3 separate regions of the Homo sapiens genome follow, and all the other regions are linked to region 3. Evidence: promoter capture Hi-C in 16 types of primary human blood cells and fetal thymus (Javierre and others, 2016). All regions are on one chromosome and are shown on one strand. The core of a region is centred on a gene start or on the middle of the fragment in contact, and the rest is flanking DNA. Distances in the headings are between cores, read along the strand shown.

Region 1 (3,078 bases), core at 228-2,727, 330 kb before region 3:
TCATCATCTCTTACCCTCCCAACTCTCTCCAGCCACACTGGCCCTCCTGCTGTTCCTCCTGTCAAGCTTGTTTCTGTCTTGGGAACTTTCCCTGACTTTTTTTTTTTTCTTTCAGAGACGGAGTTTTGCTCTTGTCGCCCAGGCTGGAGCTTAGTGGTATGATCTCAGCACACTGCAACCTCTGCCTCTGGGATTCAAGCAATTCTCCTACCTCAGCCTCCTGAGTAGCTGGGATTACAGGTGCGTGCCACCATGCCCAGCTAATTTTTGTATTTGTAGTAGAGAGGGGGGGTTTCACCATGTTGGCCAGGCTGGTCTTGAACTCCTGACCTCAGGTGATCCTCCTACCTCGGCCTCCCAAAATGCTGGGATTACAGGCATGAGCCACCGTGCCCAGCCAACTTTTCTCTTAGCCAAGAACACTCTTTCCCCAGACTCTCACAGGGCTTACTCCCCCAACTCAACTTAGTTACCCTTTCTTTTTTAAAAAAACAGCTCCATCTCCTGCCATGTTCTGTATCTTCTGCTTTATTTTATTTGGAACAGTCATCACTATTAAATAAAATCCTGGATTTGTTCATTGTTCATCTCCCCCCAAATCAGATTGGAATATGCTCTCTGTTCCCAGTGGATTTCTCCCTGGCACGTCTGGGGAATTTTACTGATTGAGTAAATGGTTAAGGCTGACCTACGTACTCCATCTCTGGCCATGCTTTCTTTTTGAGGGATGAGCAAATACTCCAGGAGGTGTGGACAGACTCTAGGGTGGGATAGGGTCGGGGAGGCTGGTTGCAGTGGGCTTCCACAGCCAAGGTTGGGATGCTGTGTGGAGCCCCTGTCTTAGCGGACTCCTACATTCTCCTCTCTTGGCTCCAGATCCTCTGCTTCAATAATTAAAAATAGCTTCAGTCAGTGTTCAAAGCAACTCCATATACATTGTCTTCTCTTAATCTTCACAAATATAATAATTAACTCAGGGAGGCAGAGTTCCCCTTGTTTTCTAACAAGAGTTGACCGCAGGTAACACTGGCTTTGGAATGACTCTGGGAAGTAATGAGGACCCTGGCCTCGGAGACCAGGCCACCTCTTGGCAGGAGAGTTTTGGTAGCTATGCAAGTGCCTGGGTTGAATTACATGGACTTTGTAATCCTTTCAAGCCTGGAGGTTTAGGATTCCCCAATCCTGTCTTGCCCACGAGGATACTAAGGCTTGCTCAAGGTAGAGATCTGGGGATAGAGGGGTGTGAGATTCTTAAAGCAAGGTCTGCAAACACCCTTCAGGACCGTTTGATTTGTGCACAGCAGCATGTTTCCACCTCCCTCGTTTCTCGCATGCGGGTGCAGGGGAGAGAGAATCCAGGGTGCGCGGTCTTCTTCTCAAGGCCGCCAGGGAGGCCAGTGTGGAGGAGACAGGGCTGAAGGGCTGGGCTCCCTCCCTGGCCCAGAGCCTGCTTAGTGTCACCTCCCTCCCCTCCCCAGCCTCCACATTTTGCTGCAGGCTATTAAGGGCCCCCATCTGTACCACCTCTCATTAATTAAAAATGCTACAAACCGTCTGTTTAAGGAAGCCTCAGAGAGGGGCTGCCTGCCTAAGGCAGCATTCTCTCATACTTCTCAACTTTAATTGAAAACATATTTTTCGAATAAAACCCAGCCCCATAAACCCTTCTTGCTGCTGTTGGCAGTGATGGTGGAGAGGTGAGTATGATGAGCCCAGAGCCAGCAGAAGCTCTGGAGTTGGGGACCGTGGTGTTGGCAGAATTTAGGAGGAGGCATGTGGTTTTGCCAGCTTGCTGGAGTGAAGGCACTCCAGCCTCTGGCGGATAGCGGGAGGGAGGAGCTGAGACGTAGATGCTGGCTGCTAGAAAGATAAGGACAGAAACATAGAAGGGCCCAGCTTAGAGGAGCACACCTTGTGCATGGGGGGAGCCAGAGGGCCCCTAACTCTGAGAATCCTAACTCTGCCCCCACTGGGTGTGGGACCAGGGGCACTTCCCCAAGTGAGCTACTTCACCTCCCTGGGTTACTAGAGTCCAGATGGGCCCCTGGCTCTCAGCAATGGGATGGTTTAGTGTTGGGGATGTGCTCGAGGGTCCGGGCCCCCCACCAAGGGCCCTCTGTGGGGAGCAGGACAGACCCCGGGCCTTTCTCCTGGCTGTCACTCTGCTTTCCTCGGCTCTAGGACCATTCCCCATTGTTCTTGTCCTGCCTGTCTCCCTGGGAATATTTTAAAAGTTTGAGGTCACTGTCACTTATGAGATGGGGGCTGGGTGTGGTGGAAATTTCAGCCCAGGGCCTGGCCTGTGGGTACTCTGTCTCGTGGCTGGATTCCTTGGAGACAGACAGGGCAGCTCCCTGGCAATGGAAAAGATGGTAGCCCTTCTCCCCCAATCCATATACAAAAGGCCCTGGGGCTCACTAATTACGCTCTTTTTGACTACCCTGCAGTGAGGCAGAATAAGAATTATCATCCCCACTTCCCCATTTTCAGGGAAGGAAACTGATGGTTAGAAACAGAAGGTGGCTCCAGATCACACAGCGATTCAAGCCAGAGCTGGTTCCAGCATCCAGGCCTCTGGCACCAAGGCCAATTCTCCCATCACACTTCTCTTCCGGTTCTCCCCTCCTCTGGGTCTTTTTGGAGCAGAGGCGATGGTGGAGGCAGGGACAGTATACCCTGAACCCAGAATGCCAACCTAGCCCAGTCCATGGTGGGCACTGCTTGCCTTTGATTTTCCTGAGCATGTCTTTATTGCCAGCCAGAAGCAGCTAATTCATCTCTGTTCCTGGTGCCTCCTGCAGAGCCTCATATAGATCCTCAATCATATGTATGGAGTGAAGAGGTGAGTGAATAAATGGATGAAGGAAAGAAGGAAGGAAGGAAGCTTGTTCCTCTAAGGTGAGCCATTCTGCCAGCCTCTAATTCATAGAAATCAGAGAAATCATGAAAGGAGAGACCACTTAATGAGTCTACATTAGTCCAACCCAGTCATTTTAAGGAAGAGGCACGGTGAGAAGTGGCAGGCCCAAGGTCACAAGTTTCCTTCAGGAGAGCCAGGCCTGGAACCTGGGTCCCCTG
Region 2 (3,242 bases), core at 662-3,161, 300 kb before region 3:
TTAATCTCTGTGACTCTCTCCCTTATAGGATTTCTCAAATCACTTTCCACTGGATTTGTTCACCCACATTTTCTCTGATTCTTCAAGCAACTAAGACTGTGGATTTCCTATAAACTTAGCTACAGTATGTGACACTGATTATGATCTGCCCTCAGGAGAAAAGCTTTAAAAACATTAAGTCCACCCATTGCTATTCTTCCAAGTGTCAATTCCCTTCCATTTTTGCCTGCTTTTTGTTTCACCAGTGCCTTTAAGTAGCTTTAAAATATCTTTTCCAGAGTTTATAGTTGTTATCTGAGGGAGGACAGATCTGATGGTAGCCATTTGATCATTATTGAAAGCCTTGTTTCATTTTTGAGCAGGTGATTCCTCCAATGGCTCTTACCAGGCAGGGTTTGTTTTAAAGCTACGTCAGGCTTAGCAGAGTCTCTAGGAATCTGGTCTTCAACTCCTAGCAGTAGATACTTATACCATGACAATGATGTGTTGTACCTGGCTCTTGGAAGCGTTTGCAACCATGTGTATGCCAACCTTCTGGGTGGTGTTACCTTCTGTGTTCCCTTTACTATCACCTTCCTTGGGAAGGAGAACTCTAGGCTACAAGGGGCATCCAGCCTCAGGTCCCTCTCCCAGGTGCCCTCTTGCATGGAGTTGGAGGGGTGGGCTTTGTCCCTTCCTAAAGCACACTCTTGGCAAAGTCTTGATTGGGAGAAGAAGAGGTGTCAGAAGGGAGAGAGAGGCAAACTTCCCAACTTGGCAATGTCATCCAAGTGTATGTCTCTTTAAACTCTGCCTTAGGGGGCTTGTCAGATGGCCACCACCTGTTCAGCTTCCCCCAGACACTTCTGGGGCTCCAGATGTGTGCCAAGAGCTGGGAAAAATTGGCTCTTCCACGAAATTCCTTTCCTCTTTCATTGGAGATATCAGAAAGGCTAGAGCATGATGGCAAAATCGCTGTGCTTTTAAAAATGTTCCTGCTTTGTAGAGGCGTTGTTTTCCTCCCCTGTTTCTTCTTTTAAAAATCTCCTGTGTGTCAGAGATGAAGCCAGAAGAGAAATGTCCCTTTGATGGCTGAGAATTATTGTTCTAAAAGCTTTATTTAAGCTGCTCTTAACAAAACTCAAACATCTGGCTTGTGGTGCCTGTGTGCCAGCTTTCAGCTTGAAGGGGAAGGCATAGAGATGGCAAGCTCTGAGGCTTGGGGGAGGAAGGCAGCGCCTGCTATGGCCAGCTCTGCTTCCGAGGCCACTGCCTGCACTGTGCCTCCTTGATGGGGTTCTGTGGCCGGGGGCAGAGGAAGAAAACCACTTTCTTGAGCTTGCCTTTATGATAGAGACATTTTGCTAGAGTAAATGTATCCAAGCCCATCCCTCAGGGCTTAAAATATGAGAGAGAATCAGAACTTGAGCCTAAGAGAAGCTGGGCTGTGCAGAAATGGAAGGAGGGTTGTATTTATCCAACACATATTCTATGCCAGATATTTTTATATCCATTGTCAGGCTCAATTACTGCAACAACTCCATGCAGCAGATATTAATATCCTTTCATTACAGATAAGAAAATTGAGGTTATAACTTGCTCAAGTTTACCTAGTTAGCAGGTAGCAGAGTCAGGACCCAACCTCAAGGCTGCTGCCCCCAGAGCCTGGGTTTCTTCCATTATGTCTGACCTCCTCTCACATGAGCCCTGAAACCTGGATTCTCAGGGCAACATGCTGTCTTCCTCTTCCAAAATGCACAGGGGATCTTTGGTTTGGAGAGGAAAGGGATGGGATCTGATGGCAAATGACTTCTCTGACAATGCAAAGGTAAACATGCACTGCTCCAGGCTGGAATTCTGACCTTGGCAACCAAGAGCTGGGTGATGTTGAGCAAGTTACTTAACTTCCCTGAACCTTAGATTTTTCAGGTGGGGATAAGACCACTCACTGGGGGGATCCCAGCAAGAAATGTGTGTAAAAGCCAATGGTTCTGTGCCCAGCCCAGAAGAGGTGCTTAGCAAGTGTTAGTCTTTCTCTTCCTCCTCTTCTACAGCTAAGAGAGGTTCAGGGCCCAGCCCCAGAACCAGGAGTCTAGATGCACAGACCTGGAGGAAATCGAGGGGGACTAGGCCAGGTACCTTGAGGGGCTCCAGCTGCCTCTGGTTTTTCGAGGTTGGTGTTCAACCCCATGAGGGGACTGAGTGAGCCTCAATGTGGGGCTGGTCCACGTGTGTCTCTCACCTGGTGGGCCCTGGATCCTGGAGGTCTCCCTTCTGGAGGTCCCTCAGAAACCACTGCATCCACCCTTCACATTTTACAGGCAGGAAGACGGAGGCCAGAATAGGAAAGAGACTTGGCCAAGGCTACATAGCAAATAGGAGGACGAGCTGGAGCTAGGCCTCAGCCTTTTAGCCTCTGAAGCCAGCGCTGGATAGCAGAGAGTGCATGTACTCTCTGTTCCCTGAAGGCACCAGGGCTGTGGTTTCCCCCAGAAACTGTGCCTCTCCTGAGGCCCAGCGGCCCTTACCTGAAGCCAGCAGGGGATGTGAAGAATGCCTGGAGTGACTCCCGCTCCTGCTGATGTGGCTCTGATCTGCCTGCAAGCATCTGTTCACCACTCTCTGATCATTACGTGGGTGGAATCTGCCCATTAGTACTTCACACCCAGGGTCTCAGCATTGCCAGGCAATTAGGATGCCCAAGATCTGAATCACTTGCTGCTGCTTCGGAATGTACTCAGGAAAGCTTTCTCCCTTTTTCTTGAGGCCCAGTGTTTCCAGCTGTGAACTGAAGGCAAGGGACCTGCCTTGGAGGATGACAGTGTTTGGAGAAACACTAAATGATGCTTTGGAGGCCTGAGACATTAAAACAGATAAATATAGGGCATCCCTATCATTTGATCTTTCTTCACATTTCCCTCAACAACTGCTCTTCCCTTTTCCTCCCTTTCTGTTTCCTCCTTTCCTTCCTGTCTCCCTTTCTCCTTTCTGATACTTGTTGAGCATCTGAGAGGCGTGATAGAGGCCTGGGAAGTGGCACTGGGCAGTGGAATCATAGGAGACAGGGCGAGTATGTTTGGAGAGTTTCTTGAGACTCCCAGGAACAGGCGGAGCCACAGGAGAGAATGGAGAGAAACTGCAGAAAAGATAAAGGTGGTCATCAGAGCAGCGCCAAACCTCAGGAGAAGCTGGAAGAAGGACATTTAAGAGGATATTAGGCCTTCAAGGAGCTGAGAATTAAGCTGAGCCTGCAGGGACCCAGC
Region 3 (3,238 bases), core at 106-2,605:
TTCGGGGACACTTTGCGGGGAGGGGGCGTCCCAGGCGCTGGCGGCTACACCCTCGGAGCCGGTGGGGGCGCAGCTCCGGGCGGGAGGAGCCTCCACCTCCCCCAGCTGGTGCCCCCTGCAGGATCTGCGAGGCGCGGGGGGAGCTGCACGTGCAGTCCGGAGCCCGGTGGCCGCGGGCGTCCCGGGGGCTACCTAGAGCCCAGTGCTGAATCTCCCGGCCTCACGGCCCAGCTCGAATCCGAACTCACTCGAGGGTGCCGACTTCCAACGCAATCCCCAGTTTCCTCGGTTTCGGTAGTAACCGCACATGGATAGCGCCGCTTTCTTCCTCCAAGCCCCTGCAGCAGCCCAGCATAAAAATCCCAGGTCAGGTGCAAATGAATGCTGTCTTTCTCAAAGAAAGAGAAAATCCAGACAACTTTAATCCATCTGGAGAAGGAAAAGTTTCCGTGCGGTGCTGAAACTGGCGACGCCGGTCGCCACCACCCTAGGCGACGCCCAGACCGGATGCCCGAGGCGGGCGGCCAGATGTTTGTCCCCTCGCAAGGCTCGCTCCTCCGCTCCAGCGCGCTTTCTCCAGTCTGGATCAGGGCCCAGGCTCCACACAGGCCGGCTCAGCGCCTCCTGCCCAGGCAGCCGCTCGGCGGCTGGGGCAAGGGTGGCGCGGCCAGAACGGGCTGCCCCATGTAGATGGGGCTTGGAGAAGCGAGGGAGCGAGAAAGCCGGCTAATGCGCCCTGCCCCGAGCCCTTCCTGCCCAGGACGTCGACTCCAGCTTGATGACCATAAACGCTGTAAGATGCAGAGGGGCTCCTGCAGCTCACGGCAGCTCCGGGCCACCCCGCTAAGGTCTCGCTGTCTCGGCAGAGAGGCGCGCTGCCCCGCCTCGCTCCTCGCCTTCCCTGGGGGAACCTGCACAAACCTTGAACTTTTCTGGGGTTCAGAGTCTCCGACGCCTCCTCCCCGCCGCCCCCACCCTGTCCCCGGACGCCCGTTCGCCCGCTGTCTCGATGCTGCCGGGCATCGGCTCCCGCTCCCTCCGAGTCAGTTTGGGCGAGCGGATCGCCGCGCCAGTCCGGGCTGCGGGCGGTGAGACGCGGGCGCGGCGCCAGGGGCCAGGGCAGCCGGCACCTGCGCAGCTTGCGGCCAGGGAAGCGGCAGCTGGTGCCTACGGGGCCGAGAGGAGAGGAGGTGCTGGCAGGGGAGCCGGCTCCCCATGGACGTGTGTGGGGGAAGAAGAAGAATCGAGGAGCAAAAAGGAAGAGGAGGTGGGGGAAGCCACAGTTGCACGAAGCAGCCGCCGCCGCCGTCGCCGCCTCCTCGGCGCTCGCGCCGGCTGCTCCGCCGTAAATGACTCGAGAGAGACACACACACTCGCGCTCGCCCGCCCTCCTCCTCCGTCCGGGATTCAGCGCCCACCCGGGCAGAAGCGGGCGCCGAGCTTGGCGCGCTCACTCCCACCCCTCCCAGATTCCCCGTGGTCACGTGGCCCCCGAGCGCGCGGCCCACAGCTCGCGCGCCACGGAGACTCCCCGACTCCTAGCTCCCCCTCCTCTGTCCACGTGTCCATTCCGCATTCCTAGCCTGGCGGCGCGCGCGGCTCCTTAATGAGACTCGGGCCAAGGGCCGACCTCGCGATTCCGCTCGCCCCTATTTTATGTTTGATTTTTCCTTCCCAACGCCGGCTAGCGCTGGGACCCGAATGGGGCCGGCCAGCTGCGGCGGGAGGAGCCTCCACCTCCCTCAGCTGCGTTTCTCCAGGGTAGACGCCACCGCAGTCACTGATGTCCCTTTTCAAAGGATGCACGCTCCCCACCGGGCGCCGGAGGTGTTTTGCAGCCGCTCTTCCAGAGGCGCGGGTAGGGGGCACCCTACCCCCACCCCCAGAGTTCGCTGGGCACTGGCTGGGAATCAGCCTCGCTGCTGTGCCCAGCTCCTCTCGGGCCGCGGGGGCTCTGGGGCTCAGCTTCGTGCGGGATGGGTCCGGGGCGCAGCTGTGGGAAACCTATTTATTCTGTTGCTGGGGAAGGAAGACGGAGAAGAGGAGGGGACAGTGCTTTCCTACAGGTTGTTTAGCAAGCCTTTAAAGAGGCATGAGGTGGGGGTGGGGAACTGCCCCTCTTGCATACTCACCCAGGCACCTGCTGACTAGCGGGAGGGGTGGCTGGAGTGATATCTGTTCCCACCATCAGGCCCTTTCCATTAGAGTGCAACCTAGATCAGACCCGGCAAGTCAACCTTCACACCTCATCTGTCAACCAGGCATCGGATCCATGGCAATGATTTTATAGCTTCGTTGGGTATCAACTCCAATCCCCAGAGGGTGAATTTCAATCCTACCCTGCTCTGGAGGGACAGGGTCTTCAATCCCATGGACATATCCCTACTGGGGAGGATATGGATCTTGAGGGTCACCCTTCCATACCTCTGCACTCAACTGGAGTGAGAGTGTGGGGCCAGGTCAGAGCAAAGCCAGCTGGGGCACTCAAACCGTGCCCTCCATCTGCCTGACTCCATGCTAGCCCTCTTGACCCTGAGAGTTTCCTTTCATCTAGGACGGTGACATTTTGTTTTTGGAAAATGTGCTTGCATTTTTCATGGAAGGCTTCCTCCTCCCTGGCTGCTGGCTGTTGCTGCCTCGCTTGGTACTGGGGCCTGTAGAGGGCTGCTCTGGCCCTTCCCCCACCCCTACATCTGTCTGGAGCTGGGGGGAGGTGCAGCCTGAGGAGAGCTGGCCAGCTCTTGGAGGCCCTGGGGATAGAAGGTGCTGGAGTCGTCAAAGAAGATTATTCTCATTAGGCCCCTAATGCCTGATGGCAATTAATGTCACCCAAGGGCTTATTCACCAACCCCCTGAGAAGCAAGCTAGCAATCAGGCTCTGTGTGGGGGAGAAAGGGGGAAAGATCCACCTCCTGAGGCAGAGGAGGGCTTCAGGAAGAGGAGGAAGGAAGCAGGGAGGGCCCTCCATCCCTGCCCAGCACCCCATCAGAAGGGTCATGGAGCCTGAGCATGGCCAGAAGGAAGAGACAAGGTGCTTTTCTGAGCCCAAGACACACCTTACCCTGTGTTGTGGATCAAATTTCCTTTCTCCTCAAATGTTCCCAGTTGACGCTAGGGTCTGAGGGGCAGCAATGTTGCATCTCTCCCAGCCATCTGTGGAAATAGCACAGTGTTCTGGTCAGGGTGGGCAGGGACTCAGACATAGAATTCTTCTCTCTGCAACCCCATCTCACCCCAC

The links. Contacts are between HindIII fragments. The CHiCAGO score rates a contact against its expected background, and 5 or more counts as called.
Region 1: a contact is called between a fragment that was not itself captured here and the fragment with the promoter of TMEM132E in region 3, in 1 of 17 cell types (naive CD4 T cells). The highest score is 5.3, in naive CD4 T cells.
Region 2: a fragment that was not itself captured here is called in contact with the fragment with the promoter of TMEM132E in region 3 in 2 of 17 cell types (megakaryocytes and naive CD4 T cells); the score reaches 5.1 in megakaryocytes.

Annotation. Positions count from the first base shown.
Region 1 is chr17:34,908,641-34,911,718 of GRCh38, reverse strand. The region is part of intron 2 of LOC105371742 (a long non-coding RNA gene); the gene reads left to right. Among named protein-coding and RNA genes, the nearest start is that of CCT6B, 51 kb to the left of the region's middle. The HindIII fragment of the contact is 2,818 bases long and covers 69-2,886 here.
Region 2 is chr17:34,876,955-34,880,196 of GRCh38, reverse strand. All of the region lies in intron 2 of LOC105371742 (a long non-coding RNA gene), which reads left to right. Among named protein-coding and RNA genes, the nearest start is that of CCT6B, 83 kb to the left of the region's middle. The HindIII fragment of the contact is 1,632 bases long and covers 1,096-2,727 here.
Region 3 is chr17:34,577,699-34,580,936 of GRCh38, reverse strand. TMEM132E (transmembrane protein 132E) reads right to left here and starts at 1,355. Exons shown (of 9, transcript NM_001304438.2): 1 at 1-1,355. TMEM132E-DT (TMEM132E divergent transcript) reads left to right here and starts at 1,568. Exons shown (of 2, transcript NR_160787.1): 1 at 1,568-2,066. RefSeq lists enhancers at 1,331-1,866, 1,867-2,403. The HindIII fragment of the contact is 10,264 bases long and covers 1-3,238 here.